Regions from separate parts of the Homo sapiens genome. Here region 2 is linked to region 1. The links are contacts of gene promoters, found by promoter capture Hi-C in human tissues and cell types (Jung and others, 2019). All regions are on one chromosome and are shown on one strand. Each heading gives the region's core, a stretch centred on a gene start or on the middle of the fragment in contact. The rest is flanking DNA. Distances are from core to core; before and after follow the strand shown. Region 1 holds the start of PTF1A (pancreas associated transcription factor 1a). Region 2 has its middle 85 kb from the start of OTUD1.

Region 1 (2,808 bases), core at 247-2,746:
TCGGATAATATTTTGTTCCTTGAGTTGTTTTTCATCAGTCCATGAGAGAGAGTGTCCTGCTAGGGGAGGGAGGCCATAATCAGGGTCGCTGGGGGAGGGGGACCCTGGACAGGTGAGAAGAGAAAACAGACTGTGAATATCCAACCACATTCCCATTGGTCCCATCAGGTCCTTTAGGACCCTTTCCTGGGTGCTCTCCGGTTATACTAGAACCACCCTCTTCCTCCACACTTCAAGTCCCCACCGTCCCCTCCCAGGAATCCGAGGAGCTGCAAGTCTGGCGGGGACGCGCGCCCTTGAGAGCCGCGGTCAACGTGGCAGAAAAATAAAAAAAAAAAAAAAAACGAGAAACGCGAGCTCGCATTCAAGTTTTTCCGTGCCCACCGACAATCCGTCGGTCCGACTGTCTGCTTGGCAGTCAGCTCCCCCAGCCCCTCCGGAGCCTTCGAGTGCCCGACCCCTTCTCCCTGAGCTGGGAAGCGGAAGCACTTACGGGTGCCCCGATGGCAGATGATGACCTTCTGGGCCTGGCTGCCCGGGCTGTCCCCGCCCAGGCGCCCGCCGCCGCCCGGCCCCCCGCAGCCGCCCGCGCCACCGCCGCGCAAGGGCAGGTCGGCCTGCACGAGCTCGCTGAGGAAGTTGATGTAGCCGATGGCCAGGCGCAGCGTGTCCACCTTGGAGAGGCGCTTCTCGTAGGGCAGCGTGGGGATGTGCGAGCGCAGCCCCTCGAAGGCGTCGTTGATGGACTGCATGCGCCGCCGCTCGCGCACGTTGGCCGCCTGCCGCAGCTGCTGCAGCTCCGCCTCGGAGCGCACCCGCCGCCGGCGCCGCGCCGCCGCAGCCGCCGCTCCGCTCAGGCCGCGCAGCCGCGCCCCGGGAGACAGTACTGCCGCCCCGGCGCACGGGTAGGCCAGGCACGAGGGCGGCGAGCCGGGCGAGTAGGGGAAGCCGCCTGGGGGCGCCCCCGTCTCGCAGCAGTAGCCGCCGCCGCCGCCGTCGTCTGGCTCACCGAGGCCCCCCGAGGACGGCGGGGCGAGCGCTAGCGGGGCGGCCGGGGGCGCGGGCTGCAGCAGCAGGCACGCCCCGTCGCGGTAGCAGTACTCGTGGAGCTGGTGGCTAAGGAACTCCACCTCGGCCTGCTCGTCCGCCAGCAGCTCATCGCCGTCCTCCAGGGGGTCCCGTGAAGACTGGTCGGTGAAGAAGTCGTCCTCGTCGAAGTACGAAGAAGGAAAGGCGTCTAGGCCCCCGGGGAAGTGCTCCAGCAACACCGCGTCCATGCTCGCCGCCGCAGTGGGCAGCGGGACTGCCGGGCTGCGCGTGTTAGTTCTTGGTGAGTTTCTAAGGCCCGTCCGAGCCCCTCCCTCCCGGGGCCCTGGCTGGGGGCAGCTAGGCGGCCGCCGGGCTGCCCGCCCCCGGGCCTCCCTGGAGTGCCCGCGGCCGCTGCGCTCTGGCCCGCGCTCGCGCTGCGCTGGGGAGGGCTGTGGCGGACTTCCTGGAGCTGAGGGCCGGCACGCGAGGATTCTTATAACAACATCCATAGGCGCGTGCCAGGGACCCATCGCGCCAGCCAATCAGAGCGCGGTGTGCCGGCGGCGAGGGGGCCCGGAGGCGCGGCGGTGGGCGGGGGTGGGGGGCGTTTTGCTCCCTTTGGGAGCTCCTGGGGCGAGGAAAAGGCGGGGTCGCGCGGCCCGGGGCTCCTCGCACCGCTCTCTTCCCTCTCCTCTGCCTCTGCATACTGGATTCTGTACCTGCCCCGCGTGCGGCTCCAGGGGCACCTGCGTCCCGCGGTGCCCGCTGCGTACCCGCGCGCGCTGAGCAGCGCCGGCTCCTTCCGCCCTGGGACTGGGGCAGCCGCGCGCCGCGTCTACACGCGGCCAGAGAAGTTCCTAGGGGTGCGCGCCGGTGGCCCAGACGGCGAGAGCGGAGCCCGCGCGGCGATCGTCCTCCTCCGCGGCAGCCTGGGCAATCTAAGGGTGCTGCCCTCAGGGACCAGGTGGGTGCATTCCGCCACCCCCTTATCCGAGGTGCGCGGGGCTCCGGCCTGGGTTCTGCTGGGGGCTTCTGTCCCATCTCTGGACTTTTCAAGGGCTTTTGCACAGTTTGCAGAGTATATGCGGGTGTCATTGGAAGGTGATCCGGGCCCACTCCCACTGCGTTCCAGACGCAACACGGGGGCTGGGAGCGCACCTATGGGACTCCGCTCTGGAGCCTGGCTGTGGTGCCTGGTGCGGGTCCCCAGCGACATCGGCTCAGTGGCTGCCTCCCCTGCCCTCCCCGGCCCGGAGAAAGGAATGGGGAGACGGGAGGGGCAGCCCCCAGAGCAGCTCAGCGGGGCGCGTTTCTTCTGAGAGCAAATCTAGACCCTAGGGATTCTGAGCAATAAACTGGATACAAAAGGAGTCCATTGAATCGTCTGCTCCGGCGCAGTCCGGAGGGAAGGCATTGAAGTTAAAGGGCAGAATGTGAATCGTTTTCAAAGCCCGAGTCTCTCACCTTTCCGACTGGCCACAGGGACCATCCCTGAATGACTTGTTTTTTTCTTTCTCGACCTTTCTTTTCTGAAAAAAAAAAAAAACACAAAACGTATGCAGCTCTGCCCCAAGACAGACTTTATCACAGACTGCGATGCAACGTGAATTCCTCTTTTTAAGAGCAACAAAGAAACACTTTCAAGGTCTGGGCAATTCCGGTTAAAAGCCAGGCTGCAGCTTCCACCCCGGGAGAGTTCAGAAGCGCAGCCATCGTGCGTATTCTCTCTACAGAGGACTGAAAGGAGTCGTCCTCCTGGGCCGCTTCCTTTTTCAGGCA
Region 2 (2,700 bases), core at 181-2,680, 330 kb before region 1:
CCAAGTCAACTCTCTAATGACAGCCCTGCGGAACTGGCTTGCTGGGCCTATTTCTTTCCAAGTCTTAGTCCCCAGAATTTTGAACACCCTGCTTTTTACATGGTTTTCCTTAGTGTTAAAAGAACATAATCACAGCAAGATAACAATTCTACAAAACTAAAAGAACCTAACCAAACTAACACCAGATAGAAGGTACACAGAGTCTTTGCTTAAAAAAAAGAAAAAAGAAAAGAAAAGAAAAGAAAATGACCATTACTCTATGTATTTATAGCCACTGGTAACGTCTTCATATTCCTTTTGAAATGCACTGGTGATTTCCAAACACCCTACCCCAAAGTATGGCACCTTGACATACTGAATATTTCAAGCTGAAGGAATGTGTGAAAACAGCAGAAACAGGAAGGTCTCTCTGGCCTTCATTTGTCCTCTCCTGAAGCAGGGCATAAGAATCTCATGTGAAAGCTACCCACCCTATACCCAGAAAGAAAAAATCTCTGAAGACACAGGGACATGGAAGAATTTGAACAAATAGGTTTGCTAAGTTTCCCCAAGTTTATTACCATTAGATCATACCCTTTTTTCCCACTCATATTTCTCCACAACTGTCCACTCTTGATCAAACCAGCTATAAAAAACCACTCAAGTTTGGCTGCATGTAGTGGCTCATGCCTATAATCTCGGCTGTTTGGGAGGCCAAGGAAGGAGGATCACTTGAGGCCAGGAGTCCAAGACTAGCCTGGGCAATGCTGCAAGGCTCCATCTCAAATAAAAATTTTAAAATATTTTTTAAAAACATTTGAGTTTAACTGTGTCTTTGAATCTTCATTTCCCTATGAAGGCTCCTGTGTCACATAAAACTTACATTAAATACATTTGTATGTGTTTTATTTTGTTAATCTGTCTTTTGTTACAGGGGCCTCAGCCAGGAACCTAGGATGGGTGAGGAAAAGATAGTTTCCTCTCCTACAGCATAAATAAAATTCCCAGGTTGGGAGGGAGAAGAAATGCTATTGAGCACCTACAGTCTTTAGAATGGAATTGTAGCAATGGAGCTAACAGACTTTTCTGCCAGGTTGTGTGATCCTGGGGGACAGAGCCCTGTCTGTTCCTGTTCATGTCTGATATGGTATGGGTCTATGTCTGCACCCAAATCTCATGTCAAATCGTAATCCCCAGTGTTGGAGGTAGGGCTTGGTGGGAGGTGATTGGATCACTGGGGTGGATCCTTCATGAATAGTTTAGCACCGTCTGGTTGGTGCTGTTCTTGTGAGAGAGTTCTCATGAGATGTGGTTGTTTAAAGTGTGTAAAACCTCGCTGCCCCCGCACCCCACCCCTGCTCTTGCCCCTGCTCCTGCTCCTGCTCCTACCGTGTGAGAGGTCTCGCTCCCCCTTTGCCATCCACCATGATTGTAAGTTTCCTGAGGTTCCCCCAAGGAGCCGAGCAGATGCCAGGATCATGCTTCCTGTATAGCCTGAAACACTGTGAGCCAATTAAACTTCTTTTCTTTGTAAATTACCCAGTCTCAGGTATTTCCTTATAGCAATGCGAGAACGGCCTAATACCATGCACTTGCTTCAGTGTGCTGCAGGTTATTACCCACATAAATCTATGCTGAGTCGATTTCACTTTTTTCAGAATGTTTGTAAACTAACACACATTTGATGTAAATAAGAAAACAATGATGTCAAAAATAAAAACTGTAAGACAGAGGTGGTGACTGAGAAAGATGATAACTAAAATGTTATCTCAAGAGGAGAAGGGAGTGGCTGGCCAGGGCTTCCTTAGAGTGAGGACAACAACTTGCACTGGAACCCATTTTCATCCCTAAAAGAAAAATCCACAGTACTGCAGGAATGACAGAGCTGGAAAAGGCTTTTCAGATCCTCTTGAGTCAACCCTCTTATTTTACAGTTGAGAAGTTCATAGCTGAAAGTAACGTGCCTATGTTCTCTCAGCCAATGAGAGATGAAAGCAAGACAATGAATTATTTTATCCTCACCTCACCAATGGTCTCAACTGCTCCACGTGGTGGTGGCCACTTCTCTGGTCCTGGCATCCAGAATAGACCTGGCTTGACAGGAGAGAGGGTTTCTTGAAAAACCAAGCCCCACCTCAGAGTTCATGTCAAAACCACTTGATTACTTCCAGGGTAAAGGTTGCTGGGTCTCTGTCCAGCATCAGTGAGAAATAAGGAGCTGGTGGTGTTACTGCCATTTGCATTTTGCCCAGACGCATGGATATGGGAGACTTCCATACCAGTCCAAAGCCCCTGCCAAGGACAGGCCACGAGGGGGCCCAGTTCCTCAAAATGCTTCCTTTAGGTCTTTCAAGGATTCTTGGCCCCAGAGTTTCCAAAAGACCTAGATGACCGGAAACACTTTGGTGATGTGATGCAAGTCAAATCAGGAGTTAGCACAAGGAGAGATATTCCATGCAAAAGTATAATTCTAGAATCCCGGAGTGAGGTAGGCCTGGCTATCAGCAGAAATCAGTAATCCTATCACACTGCCTAGTCAGGTGGCTTTTTCATGCTACTTCAAATGTGCATGTCAAACACCTACAAACACTTCAGTTGTACAGTAACTACAACCCACAAGATGGTGACTATTTAATAGATGCTAAAGCAAATAAATAAGTGCCTACTGATTCCATTCATGTATTCAATCACCTATTCAACCCTGCATTAATTAGATATTTA

What was found. The method cuts DNA at HindIII sites, captures the fragments that hold promoters and counts their contacts. A contact is called where the count stands out against the background at its distance.
Region 2: a fragment that was not itself captured here is called in contact with the fragment with the promoter of PTF1A in region 1 in 1 of the 25 tissues and cell types used here (H1 embryonic stem cells).

The regions. Positions count from the first base shown.
Region 1 is chr10:23,191,000-23,193,807 of GRCh38, reverse strand. It overlaps PTF1A (pancreas associated transcription factor 1a), which reads right to left and starts at 1,496. Exons shown (of 2, transcript NM_178161.3): 1 at 494-1,496; 2 at 1-104. The coding sequence starts at 1,277. The HindIII fragment of the contact is 16,553 bases long and covers 1-2,808 here.
Region 2 is chr10:23,522,885-23,525,584 of GRCh38, reverse strand. No RefSeq gene overlaps it. Among named protein-coding and RNA genes, the nearest start is that of OTUD1, 85 kb to the right of the region's middle. The HindIII fragment of the contact is 6,427 bases long and covers 1-2,700 here.